Linked DNA regions of Homo sapiens: region 2 is linked to region 1. The links are contacts of gene promoters, found by promoter capture Hi-C in human tissues and cell types (Jung and others, 2019). All regions are on one chromosome and are shown on one strand. Each heading gives the region's core, a stretch centred on a gene start or on the middle of the fragment in contact. The rest is flanking DNA. Distances are from core to core; before and after follow the strand shown.

Region 1 (6,042 bases), core at 1,372-3,871:
CCAGGAGGCAGAGGTTGCAGTGAGCCAACATCACGCCACAGCACTCTGGCCTGGGCAACAGAGCGAGACTCCATCTCAAAAAAAAAAGCAAAAAAACTCTTGCAACATTCTAAAATTCACATTTATTCATTCTTTCCAAAAAGGGGATTCCTGAGACAAGTCATAGGCATACCCAGAACAAAAGTAGCAATATGACATTTTTAAACATTAGGACCTCAAATAGATGCTGTAAAGTTTTATACCTATGCCTCAAGTATAGTACCCACAAATTCTGCCTGAAAATATTTGTAGACATATAGAAGGGAAAAATCAAGTTGGTGCAAAGTTGAAAATTAAATTTTACCATGCCCAGGTGCTTTCCTAATCCTTACTAGAATTTTCTATGGCTTACCCCATCCGGGAGGTGAGGGGCGCCTCTGCCCGGCCGCCCCTACTGGGAAGTGAGGAGCCCCTCTGTCCGGCCACCACCCCGTCTGGGAGGTGTACCCAACAGCTCATTGAGAACGGGCCATGATGACAATGGCAGTTTTGTGGAATAGAAAGGGGGGAAAGGTGGGGAAAAGATTGAGAAATCGGATGGTTGCCGTGTCTGTGTAGAAAGAGGTAGACATGGGAGACTTTTCATTTTGTTCTGTACTAAGAAAAATTCTTCTGCCTTGGGATCCTGTTGATCTGTGACCTTACCCCCAACCCTGTGCTCTCTGAAACATGTGCTGTGTCCACTCAGGGTTAAATGGATTAAGGGCGGTGCAAGATGTGCTTTGTTAAACAGATGCTTGAAGGCAGCATGCTCGTTAAGAGTCATCACCACTCCCTAATCTCAAGTACCCAGGGACGCAAACACTGCGGAAGGCCGCAGGGTCCTCTGCCTAGGAAAACCAGAGACCGTTGTTCACTTGTTTATCTGCTGACCTTCCCTCCACTATTGTCCTGTGACCCTGCCAAATCCCCCTCTGCGAGAAACACCCAAGAATGATCAATAAATAAATAAATAAATAAATAAATAAATAAATAAATAAAAATGACAAATTCACAGAATTGAAAAAAAAAAAAAAAAAAGAATTTTCTATGGCTTTTGGTTCACACCCTCCTCCCCAAGCTGCTTGCCTTATTCTTTCTTAGGTATATAGGCATCTTTGGTTCCTCCACTATGATATTCTTGTTCTCTACCACAAAAATGGTAATATCAAAACCCAACAAGATGAGGCTATTTAAAAACAAGTTTAAAACTTACTTGGGTCGGGCATGTTTTTAGCCAAACACTGGAAACCAGGTATCTATGATATGAGGGGGGAGAAAAAGCTATAATAAAGAGCTTAATTACAACTAATACTTTGCTAATAAGAAATGAGGCACCTGATATGATCGTTACCAATTCAGTATTAACTTGTGTTATGAAATGAAGTAGGTTAAGTGACCATCTTTTCGCATGAACTCCATCTGTAGTTCTGTATCTAGGCAGCTCTGCTGATCTCTATAGAGAGACCTATATCTGCATTTGTACACCCATATTTGCCTCTACAGGCCTGCATCTATAGAGAGGCATGAACAAATGTGTTCTAGACAGACTGACCTGGAGCCAAATAGACTGTGTTCCAGGGAGTAGGTAAAACGTGGCACAGGAACGTGATACAGAAATTTGGAGACAGCATACTCTCAGAAGCTCCAGCCCTGACCTTTGGGGTTGTAACTCTGACCAGGGTTTTCAGCCACAGCGCTGCAATCTATTCTGGAGACCCGCTCTAGAGGACAGCAACCCAGGGAGCCGACTTACCGCCTGGTTACAGAAGAGGGTTAAAAAATAAAAATCAAACGGCACAGGTCAGCCTACAGTAAGATGCCACTTTTATAAAGCTCACCAAGAAGCCAAATAGAACAGTCTGTTGTTTAAAAGGTATATTCATAGGTTGAAAAGTACTTCAATTTTAAAAAGAGAAGCAGATGAAAAAATTCAGGATGGCACGGGACTGAGATGGGTAGACATAAGGGTCGTTTGGAAGATGATGTATAGGCAATGTCCCAGGTTTTAGTTTGGTAATTCATTACATTATGCCTCATAATGTAGACGCATGTTACGTATATCCTTTGTATATATTAAGTATAGCATATTTAATTTTTTAAAAGCTGAAGCGGGAAGCAGTGAACATGTAAAATTATCTGGGAAGTCCCAAATCTGAACCAGCAGCAGATACGGGGGGCGGGGCTCAGGGGCTCAGCCTCGGTAGTTCAAAGGGGTTCCTTTAACTCTAAAGGCTGAGCCCTCAGAGAAGTCTTCCAGGCAGTTTTACCAGTCAAAATTCGACCACTAGCTCAGACTTTAAGAGAAGGCAGCGGGGGAGAGGCAGGAAAACACACAGGGCTTTGCTAGAGGGGATTAGACGCCTATTCAAACTTCAGCCCTCAGTCCTCTCCCGCCGTCCCTCCCTCCAGGCTGACTTCACGGAGCAGCGGCGTTGGGCGCTTACCTTCTCCAGCTCCTTTTTCACCCAGCCATACCAGCCGTGGGTGGTCACATCCCCGCCTCCGTTCCCGGGAACAATCACTGCCTTGCTAGGAGAAGCCATGAGTGCAGCGAGGCCAGAGTTCCCCAGCGCGGGTCCAGCGGAGCTGAGCCCAGCCTGCTCCCGCAGGGAGCCTGCGCCGCGGCATCCTGGGAGTTGTAGTTGCGGGGACCTGGGAGGCCGGGCTCTTTCCTCCTTGGCCTGCCTTCCGCTGGCTGCGTGGGGCAGCCAAGAACAAAGCCTGCGAGCTTCCATCAATTGTAAAGCAAAGCACCCTTTACTTGCCTCTTACTAGTGCTCTCATGTTTTTCCCTTATTTAAGACAGGCTATGACACGGTTGGGGTGTGTTATTTCTTTGCTAGATTTACTGATATTTCTATAGGAAAGTTTGTTTTTGGTTTCAAACATGCAGAAAACCCATTTATAACCTGGGAACGCCTGAAATCCATATTATTTTTCCTTCTGAGTTTAAAACAGTTTTTAGTAGTCAGTATCAGCCCTGGTTGTTGTTTTTCATTGCTTTGAATGAAATTTCCTTGCATAAAGCTACTAACCCAAGTAAAACAAGCAAAAATTTAATTAAATACCAAGAAAATACTTCGTCAGATTTTCATATTAAACCAGCTGATACTGAAATTGTTTAAAATAGTTTATAACCAATGCTTAGTCCCATATTCCTGGGAAGACAAACAAAGCTTCATGTACATTTGGTCACCGGGTGGGCCATTTAAACATTTTGTAAGGGGATTTCATTCAATTGTTATTTGAATTCCAATTTGTCATTCTGGTTGTATAAAAGCTTTCCCATGCAAGAGGGCTGATGTTATAACAGTAGATTATTATGCTACAGTGTATTTTCCCCCGGTAAAGAAAGCTTTTTATGGTTTGAATTTTCTGGAAACATTGGAGAAGACTGTCCTTGTCATCCACACTACAACAAAACTTCAGGACCTTGGGCTTTGGGTTCATGGTCTCGCAAATGAGAACGGTCCCTCCACACTTTTGGAACAGTGCACCCATTGGAACTTTTGAGGTAAAGCTACCCTGGGAAATTTCTCCCAAGAAGAAAATGGCATCCTTGATGTGAACAGCTTTTCCCAAGTTCACAGATTAAGACTTCTACTACCATGAAACTCTTATCTTTCAATATTTTTTGTCTTCCTTATGCCTCTACAAACAATAGAAGTGGAAAAGGGGTCTGTTATGTGCACTTATGGGGTATACTTTTATTTGTGAAGGAGTTTGCAGCCAGCCTTATACATGGATAAACTTAGACTTTGATAGATAAAAGATGAAGGCCCGAAGTAGGTAAGAAACTTTAATGGTACATGCATTGCTTCATAATCAGTCAAAAACAAAACATTGGTTCACTCCTCTAACCCACATCATGGGTTAAAGAAAACATTGCCAGTAGGCCTTCACTCTTCTAGAAAGGCATCATTTGTTAGGTCCTTTTACCATGGTTTGAAGTAAAAGAAGCAATGATTAGAAATGTATCCCTCATTGGCTGGGCGCGGTGGCTTACACCTGTAATCCCAGCACTTTAGGAGTCCGAGGCAGGCAGATCACCTGAGGTCAGGAGTTCAAGATCAGCCTGGCCAACATGGCAAAACCCCATCTCTACTAAAAATACAAAAATTAGCTAGGCGTGGTGGCAGGTGCCTGTAATCGCAGCTACTCAGGAAGCTGAGGCAAGAGAATTGCTTGAACCCGGAAGGCAGAGGTTGCAGTGAACCAAGACTGTGCCACTGCACTCCAACCTGGGCGACAGAGCAAGACTCCGTCTAAAAAAAAAAAAAAAGGAAAAAAGAAAAAAATAAATTCAGTGGTAGAGGATTAACGAAGAAATTGCTTAGTCAAGTGAGTAAACCCTTTATCTAGCTCATTCTTTGATCTATTTGATTTTAGGAGGTTTGGTTTATCGGGGCCTTGGGTTTAGGAGCATACCCCGAACTCTTGGTGTTATCCTCCCAATATTTATAATAATAGTCTCCCTGGTGTGCTGTATTCTCTCAAAGGTTTTAAATGTTTGCACGCGGTCATCTCTAGAACGTCAGATGTTCTCTCTTCAACTGGAATGACAAAAGCTGAAAGAAATGTGCAACCATGAGAACACCAAAACCTATAAATGATGTGCTGAGACCGAAACCCAAAATGATGGTAACTGAGAGTGGCGCTAAGGCCCTAAGTTTTGGTCACACTCTCACCTAAGTGAGAACCTGACCAAAAAGGGGGAATTTTTTGCACAAAATTTTGCGAGGCCATTGTTTTGGACTAAGCTCATGCATTAGGCCCCAACAAACCAAACCAAACCAAAATGGAGTTGCTTGTGCTAAGACTTCAAGGAAACATAGATTCTAGAACAGACTAGGTTTTGTTTTTTTTTCTGCAAATCTCTATAACAAACATCTCTGACAGCGTAGGTATCCACCCCATGAAGTTCCCATTAAATCTTTTTTTTTTTTTTTTTTGAGACGGAGTCTCGCTGTCGCCCAGGCTGGAGTGCAGTGGCGCAATCTCGGCTCACTGCAGGCTCCGCCCCCTGGGGTTCACGCCATTCTCCTGCCTCAGCCTCCGGAGTAGCTGGGACTACAGGCGCCCGCCACCTCGCCCGGCTAATTTTTTGTATTTTTAGTAGAGACAGGGTTTCACCGTGTTAGCCAGGATGGTCTCGATCTCCTGACCTCGTGATCCGCCCGCCTCGGCCTCCCAAAGTGCTGGGATTACAGGCGTGAGCCACCGCGCCCGGCCATCCCATTAAATCTTTTAACCAAATTAATTTCCTCTCGTCTGGAGACCATCAAGCTTCAGATGATCATGCAACAAAGGTTCCAGCCAGTTCCAGGTGAAGACACCACCCCTAGCCATCAAGAAACTACCCTGCCTCCACTAGATAGAGCAGGGCGAGTTCCATGATCACCAGTAGGTAGGGACTACACCCCAAGCCAGCATGAAGCAGTTACAGAAAAAAGACCATCAGTCCCTCTGCCTCCCATAAAGATTTATGGGGATCACATCTCTCAGCGGGCAGATGAGCCAGGAAAATAGGGTCTGGAGGCAGGGAACAGAAGGCCGATTCACACTTCGGTAATGACAGGAAATATCCTCTTCACAGGGTGTAGGCCAACTAAATGACTTTGTAGCTTTACTTCATCCTCTTCATTTACATAGGGTGTACCCCAAGTAGAGGGTATTTAAATGCTCAAAAATTCTATAATGGGGATTTTGAGGCCTTATGCTCAGGCCTGCTCCCATAATGTAGAGTGTACTTTCATTTTCAATGAAACCCTTCTTTCCTTCCTTTCTTTGTGCGTTTCGTCTAATTGTTTGTTCAAGACGCTAAGAAACTGGACACCCTCCACCATTAACAAAGGGACATGAAACTTTTGGGGGTGATATATATGTTTATTATCTCGATTGTGGTGATGGGTGTCAAAACTTAATAAATTGTACATTTTAAATATGTGCAGCTTAAGGTACATCAATTATACCTCAATATAACTCTTTCAAATTTAAAAATAGTAATCCCAGCATTTTGGG
Region 2 (6,042 bases), core at 1,312-3,811, 950 kb before region 1:
TCTCATCTTCCGAAGCTGCTTCCTGCTGAACAGGGTTGTCATCCTTGCCTAATTTTGAGGGCACTGAAATCTCTCGCTTACTGTTTTAAAGACCTGTAAAAACTGGGCTCCTCCTGGGATGGTGTGGATTGGAATATTTGGGCCATTATTAGCTTGATTCAGAACTGTTGAAGCCTGGAAGACATAAACTTTAACCATCTGTACCCCTGTTGAATATAACAAATAATCATTTTAAAAATCAAATAGCACCCAATGATAATTAATAAAATGCTTAAGCCCAGTTTAACAATGTTTGTAAAAAGAAATTGGATGGCATTTGGAATCTAAGTGAATTGGTTGGAAAACCAGCCTCCTGCTGTCTAAAACATAAAGCAAGTGGATTTTTAATAAGAGACATGTTTTTTTTCTTTTTCTTTCTTTTTTTTTTTTTTTGAAACAAGGTCTCATTCTGTTGCCAGGCTGGAGTGCAGTGGTGCAATCTCAGCTCACTGCAACCTCTGCCTCACAGGCTCAATCAATTCTTCTGCCTCAGCCTCTCAAGTAGCTGAGATTACAGGCTTATGCCACCATGCCCGGCCAATTTTTTTTTTTTTTTTTTTTTTGTATTTTTAGTAGAGACAGGGGTTTCACCATCTTGGCCAGGTTGGTCTCAAACTCCTGACCTCAGGGGATCTGCCTGCCTCAGCCTCCGACAGTGCTGGGATTACAGTTGTGAGCCACTGCACCCAGCCAATAGAGGCATTTTTATGGAAACGGGGGAAAAACAAATATTAATAGTGGGCATAATCTATCCAGAGAATGTTAGTTTGGAGTTGTAGCCTGGAAAGAATTTAAGATCTAGTCCAAATTGCAGAAAATAATGCAAAAAAAAAAAAAAAAAAAGAAAAACCCTCAAAAACGACAGACAAGGCTAGAATCTAATAGCATGTGTATGATAATGTTTTTCTCTCTAGTCTCTCATTTTTATTAAAAACAAATTATGGTACGATCAATTTATTTACAAAATAAGTTTTAGTCTTACTATTCTTGGCCTGATGATTTGCATAAAGTTTACCAATAATAATTATTTGCCTTACAGGCTCTCTTAAACTGGCTTTGCTGAAACTTTTTACATAAGAAATCTCAGATTCAGACTTGTTAAAGCCTCAAGCCCAGCCACAAATTTATCTGTTCCTGCAAATACCTGTATGAATTGGGTGAATTCCTCTCCTCTGGAGGTCCCAAGATAACTTGGGGTTCTTGGGCCATTAGAAAGTGACATTCTTTTCTCACCAGGTACAGAGACTGCATAGACCGAGTATGATGCCAGTCTTCTCCAAGGGGCTTTTATCAGTTCTTGGAGTCAACCTCAATTTTTAAAAAATCAGTCTAAAAGCATAACATTTCAGTCAAAGCCTTGGTAAAATAACCAGTCTCCAACTGTGTATTTTTACAAAAGAAAACAGATTCTTATACTTATTGTTTTTTGGTGGTGGTAGTTTTGTTTGTTTGTTTGTTTGTTTGTTTTTTAGATGAGGTCTTGCTCTGTCACCCAGGCTGGAGTGCAGTGGTGTGATCATAGCTCACTATAGCCTCAAACTCCTGGGCTCAAGGGGTCCTCCTGCCCTTGCCTCCCAAATAGCTGGGACTACAAGCACATGCCACCACATCAGGCTAGTTTTTAAATTATTTTTTGTAGAGATAGAGTCTCACTATGTTGCCCAGGCTGGTCTCAAACTCTTTGTCTCAAGTGATTCCCCTGCCTTGGCCTCCCAAACTGTTGGGATTATAGGTGTGAGCCACTATGCCAGCCCCATATTTCCCTTTTGCAGCACTTGATCTTGGCTGCATGAATCCAGTTGCTTCTGTGTTTTGCCATGTTTGTTATTCCTTCTCAGCCTCTAGAACGAATCCTCTTAAATATCACATCTTTGAATTACTGGGGTTCCTGGTTGTATTAGTCTGTACTCGCACTGCTATAAAGAAATACCAAGACTGAGTAATCTATAAAGAAAAGAGGTTTAATTGACTCATGGTTCCTTAGGCTGTACAAGAAGCATGGCAGGTTCTGCTTCTGGGGAAGCCTCAGGAAACTCACAATCATGGCAGAAGGAAAGCAGGGGCAAGCACGTTTTACATCACCAGAGCAGGAGCAAGAGAGAGAGTGGGGAGGTGCTTCACACTTTGAAACAAGCAGATCTCATGAGAACTCTATCACGAGAACAGCACCAAAGGGATGGTGCCAAACCATTCACAGTCCAGGCACAGTAGGCTCATGCCTGTAATCCCAGCACTTTGGGAGGCCAAGGAGGGTGAATCACTTGAGGTCGGGAGTTCGAGACCAGCCTGGGAAACATGGTGAAACCCCGTCTGTACTAAAAATACAAAAACTAGCCTGGCGTGGTGGCACACACCTGTAATCCCAGCTACTCAGGAGGCTGAGGCACAAGAATCACTTAAACCCGGGGGGCAGAAGTTGCAGTAAGCCAAGATCGTGCCACTACACTCCAGCCTGGGAAACAGGGCAAGACCCTGTCTCAAAAATAAATAAATTAATTAAATAAAAAGTAAACCACTCATAAAGGATCTACCCTTATGATCCAATCACCTCTCACTAGGTCCCATCTGCAACACTGGGGATTACAATTAGACATGAAATTTGGGTGGGGACATAGATCCAAACCATATCACTAGGAGATCTGTCCCAAGCCCACTTCTCTATTTACCCTCAGAATAGTTCTCAACCTTTCCAGGCCATGAGGTAGTACCACTCGGGATTGCTTTCAGATGCACACAACAGGCTTACCCACATCAGGATTATTTTTCTCTAATTGTTGCCAGGAAAGGGATCCTGACCCAGACACCAAGAGGGGGTTCTTGGACTTTGTGCAGGAAAGAAGTCAAGGCAAGTCACAGAGAACAGTGAGAAGAGAAAGCTTATTAAAAGCCACTTAGTTACAGAGTAGGGTGTCCTCAGAAAGCAAGAGGAGAAATGTCTCATCTTTGTTTTAAATTTTTCTTATATAGGGTCTTACCTATATAAAAGTTAAGCTATATCTACCTGTTGGGGGGCTGACAGTGTCACAAGATTTATTAGTTTGTTGATTTAAAGAAAACTGTTCTTGGCATTTTAGTGCATAAGTACATCAAAGCATGACTATAATCCTTTTTTTTTTTTTTTTTTTGAGACGGAGTTTCACTCTTATCTCCCAGGCTGGAGGGCAATGGCGTGATCTCAGCTCACTGCAACCTCTGCCACCCAGGTTCAAGCTATTCTCCTGCCTTAGCCTCCTGAGTAGATGGAATTACAGGTGCCCATCTGCCCACCACCACACCCGGCTAATTTTTGTATTTTTAGTAGAGATGGGGTTTCACCATGTTGGCCAGGCTGGTCTTAAACTCCTGACCTCAGGTGATCCACCCGCCTCGGCCTCCCAAAGTGCTGGGATTACAGGCGTGAGCCACCGTACCTGGCCAACTACAATCATTTTAAAAGCATGTATTATTATGCAATACCAGGACATCTGGACATTTTTTTCTGTCATAGTTTATCCTTGCAGGCATTGTTAAGCTGTTTCCTCAGCTGTAAACATCATATAACCACAGGTCATGATAGACAAGAAATGTGCCTTGCCAGTTTTACGATGGAGTTGATTTTAAAATGGTGCCACTCTGGCTCTCCTATGCTCCTGCTTCCCTAACATGATGACATGCAGTCCAGAGGTAGGCAGTTCAGGGCGAGTGTGGTGGAGCCTTCAGTCCCAGGTTCATTCCAACTCTTCACTCTGCTGGCTTTAGTATGTGGCTTAGTGCCTGTATTAGGCCATACTTGCATTGCTATAAATACCTTAGACTGGGTAATTTATAAAGAAAAGAAGTTTAGTTGGCTCACGGTTCTGCAGGCTGTACAGGAAGCATGGCACCAGCATCTGCTCGGCTTCTGAGGAGGCCTCAGGGAGTTTTTACTCATGGTAGAAGGCAAAGGGGGAGCTGTCTGGTCACACAGTGAGAGTGGGAGGAAGGCAGAGAGGTGCCACACACTTTTAAATGACCAGATCTCTCAAGAGTTCACTCACTGTCACAAAGACAGCACCAGGGAGAAGGCGCTAAGCCGTTTATGAGTGATCCACACCCACGATCCAATCACCTCCCACCAGGCCCCTCTTCTAACATTGGGGATTACAATTCAACTTGAAATTTAGAGGTGACAACATCCAAACTATATCAGTGCTCAAGCTCACAGATGGCTGCTACCCTTAGGTATCACATCTGTACCTGAAATCACTTGTACATCTACACCACCAATCTTATTCATGTATTTATTCAACAAATATGTATTGACAACCTACCCTGTGCCAACACTCTTCTGGGCCTTGGGATACAGAAGTGAAAAAAATAAAATAAGGCTGGGTGTGACGGCTCACACCTGTAATCCCAGCACTTTGAGAGGCAGAGGCGGGTGGATCACCTGAGGTCAGGAGTTCAAGACCAGCCTGACCAACATGGTGAAACCTCGTCTCTACTAAAAATACAAAAACATTAGCTGGGCATGGTGGCGGGCACCTGTAATCCCAGCTATTCAGGAGGCTGAGGCAGGAGAATTGTTTGAACCCAGGAGGCAGAGGTTGCAGTGAGCCGAGATCACACCATTGCACTCCAGCCTAGGCGACAACAGCAAGACTCTCTCTCAAAAAGAAAAAAAAAGAAGAAAATAAAAATCCCTGATCCCTGTTCTTGTGGAGCTTATATTCAATTGGAGAAAACAGAAAGTAAATAAGATAAATAAGTGAAAAATAGAGTATAATAAGTGGTGATAAGTGTTACAGAGAAAAATAAAGAAAAGGGAACTGGGAGGATGGTGGGGCATCTGGTAATTTTAGACAGGGTGGTCAGAGAAGACCTCACTGAGGAGGTTACATCTGAGTAGAGAACGGAAGGAAGTGATGGGAAAGCCATTTGGATTCTTGAAGAAAGAGCGTTCTAAACATGGGGAAGAATAAATATAATAGGATGTGCCTGGTTTGTTCAAGGAAGGGTGCAGAGGCCATCATGGCAAGAGTGGGGCAGGTGAGGATAGAGTGCGGGTCAGATGAGGTCAGGAAGGGCAACGAGAGGACAGATCCCACGGGATTTCTACAAATCCTCCATAAGGATTTGGCTTCACTGTGAGAGTAAAGGGAAGCCTTTGATAATTTTGGCAAGGAAGTGGCATAAACTGACCTACAACTTAACAGCATGGCTTTCATGGCTGTGCTGAGAATAGCAGAAGCAGAGAGACCAGCCAAGAGACCATTGCAGTAATCCAGTTTAGAGGTGATGGTGAGTTAGACCAGGGTGATAGCAATGGAGGTAATGAGGAGTGATAGAATTCTATATATATTTTGAGGGTAGAACCAACAGAATGTACTGATGTGGGATGTGAAAGAGAAGAGACAAGGATAAAATCTGAAGCTGGAAGGATGAAATTGACATTTACAAGATGGGGAAGACTGGAAGTGAAGCAGATTTGGGGGAAAAATATCAAGATTTCTGTTTTAATTATGAGAAGTTGAGATGTCTATGAAACATCCAAGGGCAAGTGTTGAATAGACAGTTGCATCTACAAGTCAGAAATCTGGAGAGAGGTCAAGGACAGACATAAATTTGGGAACCAACAGCAGAGAGAAGATATTTAAAGTCATGAAACTGAATCAGAAAACTAAGGGAATTAGTGCAGAGAGTAAAGAGAAGAAGTCTAAGAACTTAGTATGCATGGGGACTCTGGAGATCAGCGGTTAGGAGATGAAGAGGAACCAGCAAAGGAGCCTGAAAAGGACCAGATAGGTAGGTGGAAAATCAGGAAGAGTGTGTGGGATTCCGGAAGCCAAGTAAGTAAAGTGTTTCAAAGTGAAGAGAAGATATGACTGACTATGTTGTATGAGATGAGGACTAAGAATTGGCCATTGGATTTAGCAATGTGACGTTCCATGGTCATATGAGTAAAAGCAGTTTCAGGAAAGTGGTGGGGAAGAAACTATGAGGATGAAATGCCAAACTCAACAAGAACAACTAAAATCCATGGAA

The links. Contacts are between HindIII fragments. The study calls those that stand out against the background at their distance.
Region 2: a contact is called between a fragment that was not itself captured here and the fragment with the promoter of RBBP9 in region 1, in 1 of the 25 tissues and cell types used here (aorta).

The regions. Positions count from the first base shown.
Region 1 is chr20:18,494,604-18,500,645 of GRCh38, forward strand. RBBP9 (RB binding protein 9, serine hydrolase) reads right to left here and starts at 2,622. Exons shown (of 5, transcript NM_006606.3): 1 at 2,466-2,622; 2 at 1,235-1,277. The coding sequence starts at 2,564. RefSeq lists enhancers at 2,175-2,224, 2,395-2,554, 2,407-2,971, 2,575-2,624, 2,725-2,784. The HindIII fragment of the contact is 15,876 bases long and covers 1-4,341 here.
Region 2 is chr20:17,547,318-17,553,359 of GRCh38, forward strand. It overlaps a transcript of BFSP1 not described here. Among named protein-coding and RNA genes, the nearest start is that of BFSP1, 19 kb to the left of the region's middle. The HindIII fragment of the contact is 4,704 bases long and covers 210-4,913 here.